Linked DNA regions of Homo sapiens: region 1 is linked to region 2. The links are contacts of gene promoters, found by promoter capture Hi-C in human tissues and cell types (Jung and others, 2019). All regions are on one chromosome and are shown on one strand. The core of a region is centred on a gene start or on the middle of the fragment in contact, and the rest is flanking DNA. Distances in the headings are between cores, read along the strand shown. Region 1 overlaps KCNG2 (potassium voltage-gated channel modifier subfamily G member 2). Region 2 holds the start of CTDP1 (CTD phosphatase subunit 1).

What was found. The method cuts DNA at HindIII sites, captures the fragments that hold promoters and counts their contacts. A contact is called where the count stands out against the background at its distance.
Region 1: a contact is called between a fragment that was not itself captured here and the fragment with the promoter of CTDP1 in region 2, in 2 of the 25 tissues and cell types used here (heart left ventricle and spleen).

The regions. Positions count from the first base shown.
Region 1 is chr18:79,808,432-79,815,537 of GRCh38, reverse strand. The region is part of intron 1 of KCNG2 (potassium voltage-gated channel modifier subfamily G member 2); the gene reads right to left. Among named protein-coding and RNA genes, the nearest start is that of KCNG2, 14 kb to the right of the region's middle. The HindIII fragment of the contact is 3,330 bases long and covers 3,897-7,106 here.
Region 2 is chr18:79,674,795-79,681,878 of GRCh38, reverse strand. CTDP1 (CTD phosphatase subunit 1) reads right to left here and starts at 2,076. Exons shown (of 13, transcript NM_004715.5): 1 at 1,618-2,076. The coding sequence starts at 1,931. It overlaps CTDP1-DT (CTDP1 divergent transcript), which reads left to right and starts at 2,134. Exons shown (of 5, transcript NR_136643.1): 1 at 2,134-2,485. RefSeq lists enhancers at 1-319, 1,935-2,443, 2,444-2,951. The HindIII fragment of the contact is 29,025 bases long and covers 1-7,084 here.

The DNA.
Region 1 (7,106 bases), core at 4,312-6,811, 130 kb before region 2:
AGTTTTGATTCTTCTTTGATTCCGCTAGAAGCCATCACTGAACACTCCCCAACACTCTCATAAACCATTAAAGGATTTTTTTTTTTTTTTTTTTTTGAGGCAGGGTTTCACTCTGTCATCCTGGGACTGGAGTGCAGTGGTGCAATCTTGGCTCACTGCAGCCCTGACCTCCCAGGCTCAAGTGATCCTCCCACCTCAGCCTCCCAAGTAACTGGACTACAGGTGTCTGCTATCACACCCAGATAATTTTTTCTATTTTTTTGTAGAGAGAGCATCTCACTATGTTGCCCAGGCTGATCTTGAACTCCTGGGTTCAAGCAATCCTACCACCTCTGCCTACCAAATTGTTAGGATTACAGGCGTGAGCCACTGTGCCTGGATATAAGCATTTTGGTGGAAACTGCGTAATACCTCACCCTGAGGATGGATCTTAATTTACTTACATTTCCCTATTGTCAGACATTATTTTGATACTAAAGTTCCATGCTAGTTCATGAATACTGCAAAGAACATCCTTTTGCATATTAAATTCATTTTCTCTGGGAAGACTTCCTGACCCTAATCTGTTTATATTTGAAATTACACTACTAAAACATAAATGTATTTTCATCGTAAAAAAAAAAAAAAGCACACAGGGTAAAAGCACATGGCCATCCTCACCCTTCCCCCTTCAAAACAAATCCGCTCCCCACAGGTAACTACTTTTAAGGTGACTTATTTACCCAGAACTTCTACTAAGCCTTTATGCATATACATATACATTTTTAGAATTAAACCTTTTGAGATTAATAATAGATTAACATGCAGTTGCAAGAAACAATACAAAGGGATCCCCTGTACCCTTTACCCAGTTTCCGCCAATGGTGGCCTCTTGCAAAACTGCAGTACAATCTCACCGCCAGGATTGATGCTGACCCACGCAGGCAGTGTCACTCCTGCCACCCCCTCCCAGCTCTGTAAAACCCTGGCAGCCCCTAATCTGCTCTCATCTCTATAAGCTTGTCCTTTCAAGAATGCCGTGCAAATGGAATGGCAGAGTCTGATTATTTTGAGACTGGCTTTCTTCACACAGCATAATTCCCTGGATATTCATCCAAGCTGCTGTGTGTACCGATAACCCATCCCTTTCTACTGAGAGTATTCCGCAGTACAGAAGTGTGATCGTCGAACTATCACCTGTGGAAGGGTCTCTGGGACAATTCCAGTTTTTGGTTGTTAGTAATAACATTATGAAAATTTGTGTCTAGGTTTTTATGTGAATATATTTTCCATTTCTCTGGGATAAATGCCCAAGATCACAATTGCTGGGTCATACGGGAGTGACATGTTTAGTTTTATCAGAAACAGCCAAACTGTTTCCTAGAGTTGCTGAGCCATTTTACATTCCCAGCAAGGCATGAAAGGTCATTTCTCTGCATCTTTGTCAGCATTCGGTGTTGTCAATATTTTCTATTGATTTCAGCCACTCTGGTAGATGTGTAGGGGCACAGTGGTTTTAATTTGCATTTCCCTAAAGGCTGACGGTGCTAGGTGTCTTTGCACCTGCTTGTCTGCCTTCCATGAGTTTTCCACAGTGAAAGGTCTGTGCACACATCTTGTACATGTCTAACTGGACATGTTTTGAATATTTGTTTACCGGTGATTTAGAGAGTTCTTTATATATTCCAAACTTTGGTCCTTTAGTGAATACGTGGTTTGCAAATATTTTCTCCCATTCTGTAGTTTTACGCTTCATGCTCTTAAAATGTCTTTTGCAGGGCAGTTTTTAATTTTGATGAGGTCCAATTTATCAAGTTTACTTTTTATGGGTTATACCTTTGTTGTCAAGTCTAAGAAGGCTTTGCCTACCCCTGTGTCCCAGTGAATTTCCCCTATCTTTTCTAGAACTCTTATGGTTTTATGTTTACATTTAAGTCTGTGATCTGCTTTTAGTTGATTTGTGTAGCAGGTGGAAGGTTTAGGATAAGCTTCTCCATCCTCCCTCCACGCTACCCCACCCATGGATGACCAACTGCACCTACAACATTTCTTGAAAAGGCTTCAGATGTGGATTTTTTGTGGATGTTCTTTATCAAATTGAGGATCTAATTCTAGTTTTCTGGGAGTTTTTATTGTGAGTAGATGTTGGATTTGTCAAAAGCTTTTCTGCATCAATTAATATGATTGTATATCTCTTCTGTTGATATGGTGGAGTACAGTGTTTGACTCAGAATGTTGAACCAGACTTGTGTGCCTGGATTAAATCTCATTTGGTGCAGCAACTTTATTCATTGCTGGATTCAATTTCCTAATATTTTGTTGAGGGTTCTGCATGTGAATTCGTGAAAGATACTGGTCTATAGCTTTCTTTTTTTATTTTTAAATTTATTTATTCATTTATTTTAAGATGGAGTCTCACCCTCTCACCCAGGCTGGATTCCAATGGCGCGATCTCGGCTCACCGCAACCTCCCCCTCCTGGGTTCAAGCGATTCTCCTGCCTCAGCCTTGTGAGTAGCTGGGATTACAGGCACCCGCCACCACACTCGGCTAATTTTGTATTTTTAGGAGAGATGAGGTTTCACCATGTTGGCCAGGCTGGTCTCAAACTCCTGACCTCGTGATCCGCCCTCCTTGGCCTCCCAAAGTGCTGGAATTACAGGCATGAGCCACTGTGCCTGGCCTATTTACTTATTTTTGAGACAGAGTCTCGCTCTATCACCCAGACTGGACTACAGTGGTGCGATCTCGGCTCAGTGCAACCTCTGCCTCCTGGGTTCAAGTGATTCTCGCGCCTCAGCCTCCTGAGTAGCTGGGAGTACAGGTGCGCACCACCACGCCTGGCTAATTTTTGTATTTTTAGTAAAGATGAGGTTTTGCCATGTTGGCCAGCTTGGTCTTGAACTCTGGGCCTCAAGTGATCTGCCTGTCTTGGCCTCCCAAAGTGATGGGATTACAGGCGTGAGCCACCAGGCCCGGCTTATAGTTTTCTAGTTTTCTTTTTTTGTAATGTCTTTGTTTAATGTGGTCGCCAGGTATGGCTGACCTCATTAAACCTCACATTGAGTGAGGAAGGGTTCCCTTCTCTTCTTTGAATGTTTGGTAGAATGAATTCTTCTTTAAGTATTTGGTAGAATTTTCCAGTAAAATCACCAGGTCTGGAGATTTTTCAGGACTTTTTAAGAATTAATTCAATTTTGTAACATATTATTAATATTACTTTGAGACCTTTTGTCTCTTCTAATCTAAGCACTGGATGTTATAAACCTCCCCCAAGAACTGTTCCGACCGTATCTCACATATGCTGCTCTGCTGTATTTTCACTTTCATTCAGTTCTATGTGTTTCGAATTTCCCTTTGAGACTTCCTCTTCGACCCATAGATAATTTTAAGGCATGTTATTTAATTTCCAAGTATCTGGAGATTTTCCTGTTGTCTTTCTGCTTCCTGAATCTGTAGATCTATGTCTTTTGCCAAATCTGGGAGGTTTTGGGGGCATTCTTTCTTCAAATACTTTTTCAGCCCCACTCTTTCTCCTCTCTTTCTGGGGCCTGATGATACAAGTATTAATACTTTTGTTATCGTCACACAACTCCCTGTGACTCTCTGCCCATGCTTTCCAGTCTTTCTTCTCTCTTCTGTTGATGTTGGGTAATTTCTGTGGGTCAGGTTCACTAATTCCATCCAGCGTGATCTCCCCTTTACTGTTCACCCCATGCAGTCAGAGTTTAAAAAACTGTTGTTATATATTTCAGTTACGTGATTTCATCTTTTTCTTTTTTATATCTTTCATTTCTTTGCTAAGATTTTCTATTCCTTCATTTGTTTCAGGAAAATACATGATTGGTGAAGCATTTTAAACCCATCGTTGATTGGTGAAGCCTACTTTAAAATAGTAGTCATATAAACCAACATCTGATTCAGCTTGATGTTGGTGTCTGTTAATTGTCTTTTTTCATTTATGTTCTGGTTTTCTTGGTTCTTGGTGAGTGACTTTTTTTTATTGTATCATGGACATTTTGGATATTTATTCTCTTGTATGTGGAATCCAGTTGTCCCAGCACCATCTGCTGAAGAGACTATTCTTTCTCCATTGCATGGTCTTGGCACTCTCATCAAAAGTCAGCTGACCACAGATGTATAGGTTTATTTCTAGAATTGCAATTGTATTCCATTGATCAATATGTCTCTCCTTATGCCAATACCACACTATTTTGCTTACTGTAGCTTTGTAGTAAGTTTTAATAAATAGTGTGAGAACTCCAACTTTGTTCTTTTTAAAGATTTTTTTCACTTACTTTGGTCCCTTGTAATTCCATATGAATTTTAGCATCAGCTTGTCCATTTCTGCAAAAAGTCAGCTAGGATTTTGATAGGAATTGTATTGAATCTATAGATCAGTTTGGGAGTATTGCCACCTTAACAATGTTAAGTCTTCCTATCCGTGAACATGGGATGTCTTTCCATTTCTTTAGGTCTGTAATTTCTTTCAGCAATGTTCTGTAGTTCTCAGCATACAAGTCTTACACCTCTTTGGTTACATTTCTTGCTAGGGGTTTTACTCTTTTTGATGCTATAGTAAATTGTCTTCCTAATTTCCTTTCCAGGTTTTTCATTGCTAGTATACAACAACACGCTGAGTTTTGAGTATTGTTTGACTCTAAGTTCTGGTTTGTTTTTGTTTTTGAGAAGAGCCTGACTCATGCTTCTAAGGTTGGACAGTCCTCATCATTCAGAGACTGTGCATATATTTACTTCTAGTTTTTTTCTACGTTTTTTGGTTTGTTTTGTCTTTTTATACAGCATCTCACTCTGTCACCCAGACTGGAGTGTGATGGTGTGATTGTAGCTCACTGCAGCTTCAAACTCCTGAGCTCAAGTGATCCTCCCACCTCAGCATCCCAAGTAGCTGCAACTACAGGCCTGTGCCAGCACACCTGGTTAATTCTTTTTTTTTAGAGACAGGGTCTTGCTATGTTCCCCAAGCTGGTCTTAAATTTCTGAGGTGATCTTTCCACCTTAGCCTCCCACAGTGCTGGGATTCTAGGCATGAGCCACTGCATCTGGCTACTTTGTTTTTTAATTTTTGATTTCTACGTTTCCTGCCTTTACTCACCAGCACTCGGCATCAGTATTTGACATGAGATGGGACCAAAGCTGGGTTTGCCTGCCCTGTAGAGCTGTGCTGGGCAGCCCCCAGCAAACCCCCTCCGGGACTAGGCGTGGTGCTTCCCCCCTCCCCACTGATCAGAAATTCTCCAGTCTCATCTTGGTCCTCTTTGTCCACCCTCTCTTCTCTCTTTTCCAAGGCTTCCTTTTCAAGTTTCTCTTTTTGTCCCTTTCACCTGATTTTTTTCCTTTAGACTATTACCCACTCCCCCCTCCCACCGCCTCCATCTTCCCTGGCTTTTAAATCAGATTCTGCCTTTGCACATGAGAAGCCCAGCTGGGTGCTGACACAGGTTCTGAGGGATGCTCCCTCGAGGTTTCATCCTCATCGGCCCTTCCACCCAGGCCCAGCGCAATGGGCGGGCGGCTCCGCGAGGCTGGCCCTGTGGACGGCGCTGAGACCAGAACCCACAGCCAAACGCCAATGAGCACAGGACTCCGCCCACCAGCCCCACAACCCCATGAGCCCCGGAAAGTTGGAGCGTCACGATAGTGGGAGGAGAAGCTTTAAAACCGGCAACAATGAAGGAGACGCAGAGGGCAGCCACGGGCATTTGGCCACATTCTTGTTTTTTCTGGACGAGGTGACCACAGCTCCTAGTGTGCAGTAGGACGCCTGGGCTGCAGCATCCGAAAAGTACGTCTTGAGTGGGCGTGAAGATTGCCTTCTGGGGAGCGAGGTTTAGAACCGAAAGCTGCATAAGCGGCAGGTGCGCTGGGCACCCGGAACGTGGTGTGGTCAGTGAGGCCCCGGCAGCTCCTCAGGGCGAGGACTCTGGGACCGTAACGTGGAGTGTGGTCAGTGAGGCCCCGGCAGCTCCTCAGAGCGCGGACTCTGGGCCGGTAACGTGGAGTGTGGTCAGCGCGGCCCCGGCAGCTCCTCAGAGCGCGGACTCTGGGCCCATAACGTGGAGTGTGGTCAGCGCGGCCCCGGCAGCTCCTCAGGGCGAGGACTCTGGGACCGTAACGTGGAGTGTGGTCAGTGTGTCCCCGGCAGCTCCTCAGAGCGAGGACTCTGGGCCCATAACGTGGAGTGTGGTCAGTGTGTCCCCGGCAGCTCCTCAGAGCGCGGACTCTGGGCCCATAACGTGGAGTGTGGTCAGTGTGTCCCCGGCAGCTCCTCAGAGCGCGGACTCTGGGCCCATAACGTGGAGTGTGGTCAGCGCGGCCCCGGCAGCTCCTCAGAGCGCGGACTCTGGGCCCATAACGTGGAGTGTGGTCAGCGCGGCCCCGGCAGCTCCTCAGAGCGCGGACTCTGGGCCCATAACGTGGAGTGTGGTCAGCGAGGCCCCGGCAGCTCCTCAGAGCGCGGACTCTGGGCCCATAACGTGGAGTGTGGTCAGCGAGGCCCCGGCAGCTCCTCAGAGCGCGGACTCTGGGCCCATAACGTGGAGTGTGGTCAGCGAGGCCCCGGCAGCTCCTCAGAGCGCGGACTCTGGGCCCATAACGTGGAGTGTGGTCAGTGTGTCCCTGGCAGCTTCTCAGAGCGCGGACTCTGGGCCCATAACGTGGAGTGTGGTCAGTGTGTCCCCGGCAGCTCCTCAGAGCGCGGACTCTGGGCCCATAACGTGGAGTGTGGTCAGCGAGGCCCCGGCAGCTCCTCAGAGCGCGGACTCTGGGCCCATAACGTGGAGTGTGGTCAGTGTGTCCCCGGCAGCTCCTCAGAGCGCGGACTCTGGGCCCATAACGTGGAGTGTGGTCAGTGTGTCCCCGGCAGCTTCTCAGAGCGCGGACTCTGGGCCCATAACGTGGAGTGTGGTCAGCGAGGCCCCGGCAGCTCCTCAGAGCGCGGACTCTGGGCCCATAACGTGGAGTGTGGTCAGTGTGTCCCCGGCAGCTCCTCAGAGCGCGGACTCTGGGCCCATAACGTGGAGTGTGGTCAGCGAGGCCCCGGCAGCTCCTCAGAGCGCGGACTCTGGGCCCATAACGTGGAGTGTGGTCAGTGTGTCCCCGGCAGCT
Region 2 (7,084 bases), core at 827-3,326:
GGAAGAAGCCACCTCAAATTCCAGGCAGCACCGTCTGTGGCTTTCTCTAAGGCAAGGATTTACCTGCCGCCCATGGACTGGAGGCAGAGAGATGAGCCTCCTGGAACCAGAGGGACACCTGGTGCCACACAGACGCTCCATCTGAGGAGAAATGATATCACATCAGTGTCTCAAAGGGCCCTGTGAGGTACCCCAAGATCTCAAACAGCACCTCCCTGTAAACACTACTGACTGCTGGGAACCCGTCATCAAGCTCATGACCTGGCTGGCTGACTGACTGATGCACTGGGTTGGTTTTATTCACTAGACTGACTGAACATGGAATTTCAATACTAACTTGCCACATAACCAAGTTACTCACCTGTCTAGGCCAAAGCAGCCCTTTCTGTACAATCAGAGGAACAGAATGAAACCTCAGTAGGGATCTTCCATCCTGGGGTTTTCTGTCCAGGGAATACACCAGCATTGGGATCTGCCTCCACAATCCTCCCAGGTACGGCCAGTGCCCACTGAGGAAGCCGTGAAGGCATTTTCTGGGAGGCAAGGCCCTGAACCTCCCAGCCCCACCCACCAGCACGCAGGGGGCAGGAGTGAGTGCCCGTGCCGAGGGTCAAGGACCCAGGCTCTGTCTCCAAAGGAAGCGGAGCCAGGACGTTCTGGGGCTGTGACGGGAAGACTCCTGTCCCAGTCCTCACTCTTGCGGAACCAGATGCAGAGAAGATCCTCAACAAACACAGGGTCAGGGCAAGCCAAAGGGACGAGGAGCCGCGGCTGCCGAGGAGGGAAGAGAGTGGCATCCCCAGAAGGAGCGGCACCTTTCCCAGAGGGAGCTCACGCCCGGCCCACTGCGGGCTGGAGTGTCCACCTCTCCCTGGAGTTTCTGTTCTCACAATCAAAACTACCAGAGCCAGGCGCACACGCGTGTCCACTTGCCCGCCCATCCCAGAACACAAGGGTAGATTCAAACATGGCTGGACACTTCGGTGCTACGGAAACATATCCCCTTCTGGGGTCAGAGCACAGCTACTGAGAGCTGTGGAGTCTGTCACAACGCCCACGTCACCCTGAAGCAGCCTGCGACAATGCCCACTGTGGTCAACCACGGGGCTACTGCCTTCGCTGCAGGCCTGGGTTCCGCCCGTTCCTTAGCCACGAAACAGAACTGCACCAGGTTTTACAACTGCGTTTCACAAAGTTTACAAAAATTTAAAGATGTGCACACACCCAACAGTTTATATTTCAATAACAGGTCTGGAGCCTGCCTGATGACTCTTGTGCTCACAGCCACCCATGAGTTTTCCTAAGTCACAAAGGTGGAGCTAAAGGAAGGGGCGGGGACTATCACTGCAGAAAGAAAGAAACAAACATAGCTTTTCCAAACAGTAACTTCGTGTCGCTACGCAGGACCCTTTCCTTTTATCTCAAAATGCTCCCCGTTGGTAAAACCACAGGTGGTGACTATCCAGTTTTAGGGGAGAAGCGCAGTGCCTGCGTCCCGCTTTATCGCTCCCTCACCAGGGGCGCCCCTGCCCACCGCGGACGCAGCAGCCCGGGGGTCCTCCAGGATCCCTCCCCGGAGCCGCCCGCCCTCGGCCCCGCCCGGCTCAGCACACTCACCCTGGGGCGACCACCTGGCCCGGCTGCGCGCACAGCTCCCGCACCACGCCCGCGCGCTCCGACCTCAGCCTGCGTTCCGGCCGCGCGGGGCGCACGCAGCCCCCGGAGGCTACACGGGACTGAGAGGCCCCGGAGGACTGCGCGGAGGCGGCGGCCTCGAACACGGCCAGCACCGAGCCGATGCGCACGGCCGCGCCCGCCGCCACCCTCCACTCCAGCAGGCGCAGCGGCGCGGGCCCCGGGCAGCGCACCTCGGCCACAGCCGCCGTCGGGGCGCCCTCGGCAGGAACGCGACCCGCGGCCGGCACCTCCATCGCGGACAGAGGGCGGGCGGGCGGTCGGTACGGGGCCTGCGCTGCGCTCAGAGCGCAGCGCCTACCGCGGCGACACAACCCAGGCGGCGACGCTGTAGTTCCTCTCGGTACCGGCTTCCACCCGTCGCCTAGCCCGCGCCGACTTCCTGGAGGGCGCGTGACGTCACGCAAGGGCGCCGCGTACGTGCGTACGTGCGCGTGTAAATACGAGCGCCGCGCGGGGCCGGAGCCGGCTCCGTCCTGGGACCAACCCTGCGTGCCGGCCGTGAAGAACTGCGTTCCTGAGCCCTACCTACTTTTCCTCGGAGCGCCGGCACCGTGGAGCAGCGGCATGCAACGCGGGCCGCTGTCGCCCAGTCCCAGTGACGGTCTTGGCGCGCTCGGAACTACGTATCCCGGCGTGCACCGCGGACAGAGCATGGCGGGACTACGAGTCCCAGCGTTCAACGCAGGCCTGCGTGCCATTACCCCATCACGCGCTGAGACCCAGCATCCCGAGACTACGAGTTCCGGCATGCACCGCGAGCCGCTCTCCTCCACTCCCATCGCGCACTGTGAGTCGCAACGTCGCGGGACTACGGGTCCCGGCATGCCTTGCGCGCCGCGGGCCCAGAGACGTGAGGCTGTCGGCGTCCTGGTGGCCCCGCCTCGTGTCCCCCCCCGGACCCCACGCCGCGGGAGCTTGGGGGTTGCGGTCTTCTCTTCCTCCGACCTCACCTTCGATGCGGAAGCGCAGGGGCAGGTGCGCCGCCCTCGGCCCGCGCAGGCGGTGGGCCCGTCTGGGGCAAGGCGCCCGGAAGCGCCTGGTTGGTTCAGAAAATCGGACCGCAGCGGGAGGGCGGGCACCGGCGCGTGGTCTCAGTGGCCCCAGGCGAACCCTGATGAGCAGCAGCCGCAAGTGGCTTACTAAAGGAGCCACTTTCTACGTTTGTCTGGAATTTACGTGAATTAAGCTGGCGGGCGGGCGGCCAGGCCTGTAGTCTCAGCACTTTGGGAGGCTCAGCACTTCGGGAGGCTGTGGCGGGCGGATCACCTGAGCCTGGGAGTTGGAGACCAGCCTGCGCAACGTAGCAAGACCCTATCTCTAAAACAGATTCATTAATACTTAGCCAGGCGCGGTGGCTGAGGTCCCAGCTACTCGGCAGGCCCAGGCTGGCCTGAGCCAGACCGCTCTGGACTGTTTTAATTTTTTCAGCCTTAATACCTGCCAGAATTTTTTTTTTACTATGTATCTTTGTCCTTACGTATATAAATTTTATATACAATTGAGATTATCCTGTATTTGCTTTTCCCCCCTCACTTTTATATGGTGACTTTTCTCATGTTAGGCTGAATACTAACATTTTGGAAACTGTCGGCCTGAAAACGAGCGGAGACACAGTTTCTCTAAGTAGAGAGTTTATTTGGGCCACACTTGAGCACAAATTCAAGGCGCCCTGAATGTGTACTCCGATTAGCAGTTAACAGTGGATTTTAAAGGCAAAAAAGGGGGCCAGGGAGTGGACTAATAGGAACTTGTTTGTGAGGAATTCTCACTGGTTTACAGAAATAACATTGATTAGTGACTGACTATATGTTGTTCAGCTATTGAGTGTGGGTATAGTGTCCATTGTGGCGTCATTAGGTTAATTTATAGCTGTTTGTGGCGCTGTTGCCACCAGTAGCAGTTTAAAGAGGTGAACACAGGTCAAGGGGTAGTAGGGCGCGATTGTCGCCTCATTTGAATGTCTCTCTCGGCCTGATAATTAAAAGAACTCGCGTTCCTCAGATAAAAATTCTCTTTTCTCAAAACCATTTAAATGTGGTAATTAGAATGGCCCAGAAGGGGCACAGTGCCTTTTAGCCCTCGCCATTACTTGCTCTTAGGAGTGCATTTTTTGTAGCTGTGGGTTTTTGACTATCTCTGCTGCTTTCTCCAGCCCCTACCCTCGTGACTACAAGGGAAAACGTGCGGTGCTCACGAGAGAGCCTTTATGGGATTTTTAAAAAATGGGGATTGTGGGAAAATGGCTCCAGCAGTCACAGTTTTTCAGTTTCTCACAATCCCATAAAAACAGAGCAACCAGGTAACAAAACTAAAGCATGGGCAACATTTACAGACCACTGGATGGTGAAGAATTCCCATGAACCCCTGGTTCACACTGTAAGGACACACTACTCAGCATGGGCAACATTTACAGACTACTGGATGGTGAAGAATTCCCATGAACCCCTGGTTCACACTGTAAGGACAGACTACTCAGCATGGGCAACATTTACAGACCACTGGATGATGAAGAATTCCCATGAACTCCTGGTTCCAACTGTAAGGACACACTACTCAGCTGTAGCCTGAAGCCGCCTCCTTACATACTGTAAGTTTAGCCTATAGGTTTCTCCATACGTAGTGAACAGTCATCTAATTGGATGTGTGGACACTGTAACCTACTCTTGAATCAGTCACAGGCAGCAGCACTTCAAACTCTGTTTCAATAAGCCAGACACGAGCTGTAGCCACCCTGCTGTTTGCAGGCCTCACCTCTGCCTTCTGTGCCTCACTCCCTTTTCTGTCCGTAAGTCTTTGGCCACACAGTGGCACTGGAGTCTCTCTGAGCCTATTCTGGTTTGAGGGGTTCCCTGATTCCTGAATCATTCTTTGCTCAATTAAACTCTGTAAAATTTAATGTTTCTAAAGTTTTCCTTTGAACACTACCAACAGCGCAAGCCCAGGGTGATGTCGGGGCCTGCGAGAGAGAAAGTAGGGGGGCCAAGGGCTCCACACTCACTGTGTGAACAGGTTTGTCTCAAAGGTTGTTGATATGTATCAGCATTCCCTATTTGAACCTGTTCCCACCAGCAGTATGTGAACTTTGGTTTGAAAAAATAATTCTGTAAAATGGGAAGAACCGTGTGTTATGTATGGACTTTGAAATACAGACCTCGATGGAACTGACAGACTGATCTAGGTAGACAGATGTAGACATCCCTAGGTGATTACAACTCCAACCTGGATAGATGCCATGTAGTCTTCCAATTAGAGATGCTATACAGCCAATGAAACTTAACCATGTCTTTAATAGGTGTGCCACCTTTTGTTAAAATCAGTTATCTTACAAGTATCATGAGAAAAAACATTAGTATCAACAGATTGAAACATTTATTGGGAAGAAAGTGAGGCCACAGTCAGGAAAAATAGCATAAGCCACAACCTCTTAGTCAAGAATCTTAGAAACAGCTGTGTTTCGTGTGTTTCAGAACTCTGAATTGTTCTGATTTTAGGAAAGTGACGTGTGCATATTCCACTTGGGGCCTGGGGCAACACCCTCATCAAACTGATATTCCTGCAGCAAAATACAAGCAGGACGAAAAGGATCATGGGTCGTCTCGTGCCAAATCAGGTTAGACTTTCCGCCAAATGAAGTACACAAAACTTTCCATGTTTAGGACTATGAATTTGGGCCAGGCACTGTGACTCATGCCTGTAATCCCAGCACTTTGAGAGGCTGAGACAGGTGGATCACTTGAGCCCGGGAGTTCAAGACCAACCTGGGCAACATAGTGAGACCTCATTTCTACAAAAAATTAGCTGAGTGTGGTGGTGTGCACCTGTCTGGAGTCCCAGCTACTCAGGAGGCTGAGGTGGGAGGATCCATTGAGCCTAGGAGGTCAAGGCTGCAGTGAGCTGTGATTGCACCACTGTCCTCCAGTCTGAGCAACAGAGCGAGACCCTGTCTTAAAAAAAATGGATACTGGGGCCACAGATAAGAGGTATGGGACTGTAATGCAGTCACCTTTACGTAGTGGCTCAGGGGAAAAGGAGGAATCCCAGTCCCCAGAATTCTAGTTTTATCTACGTCACGGGTGGTTTTGGTGAAACCTGGAAGGATTCTGTGGTCACTTTTCCTCACTGATGTATGTTTCCTCCAAACTCAACTGTGTCATTTGATTAGCATGCAAGGGTCTGTGCTAGCAAGGCCAGAACAAAAGGAGGTTAAGGGGAAGGACAGCAGTTGTAGGAATAGAATATGGCCTTGGGGAGTCCAAGATCTCCTGGGCCTGGGTATCTGTGTGTGAACATCATCTGCACGTATGTGACTATGCTTGGGGCCCTTTAACTGTTGCACAGGCCAACATGTGGCCCCCAAGACCCTTATCTGACACCTTATGTGAAAACTCAGTGGATTAAAGACTAAACAAGAAATAAAGGTATACAATTTCTAGAAGAAAACGGGAAAAATTTATGACATTGGATTTAGCAGTGATTTATTGGATATGACACCAAAGACACGGGCAACAAAAGTAAAACTAAGACGACATCAGGCTTAGAAACTTCTGTGCATCGAAGGACACAATCAACCTTTCCCTTCTGTGCAGGGAAAAGGTAACCTGTGGAATGTGAGAAAATATCTGCAAATCATATATCTGATAAGGGGTTAATATCTGGAATATATAGACAACCACCACTCAACAGTAAAACAAGTCACCTCATTTAAAAATGAGCAAGGGACTTCAACAGACACTTCTCTGAAGAGGATATACAGTCAGCACTCTATCGATGGGTTTTGCATCCCTGGATGTAACCAGCCAGGGATTGAAAATATTTTTATTAAAAAAATGTGCCCATGCTGAACATGTACAGACTTTCCTTCTCATTGTTCTCTAAACAATATAGTGTAACAACTATTTACATAGCATTTACTTTGCATTAGCTATTATAAGTAATCTAGTGACGATTTAAAGGATGCAGGAGGGTGTGCATAGGTTACAGGCAAATACTCCCAACATCCTTAGATTTTGGTCCGTGGGAGGTTCTGGAACCAGTCCCCCACAGATACCAAGGGACAGTCGTATTTACAGATGACCAGTAGGCACATGAAAAGATGCTCAAAATCACTGACCATTAGAGAAATGCGAACCACAGTCACAATGAGATGATCACTCCATACTCATGAGGATGGCTATGATGAAAAACAGCATGGAGTTAGGATGGCTGTGATGAAAACAGCATGGAGGTTTTCCTCAGAGTTAGCATGTGATCCAGGAATCCCACCTGTACGTATTTACCCAAAGAATTGAAAGCAAAGTCTAAAGAGCCACTTGCACACCATGTTCACAGCTGCACTGTTCACAGTAGCCAAGAGGCAGAAACAACATAGCGTCAATCAACAGATGAA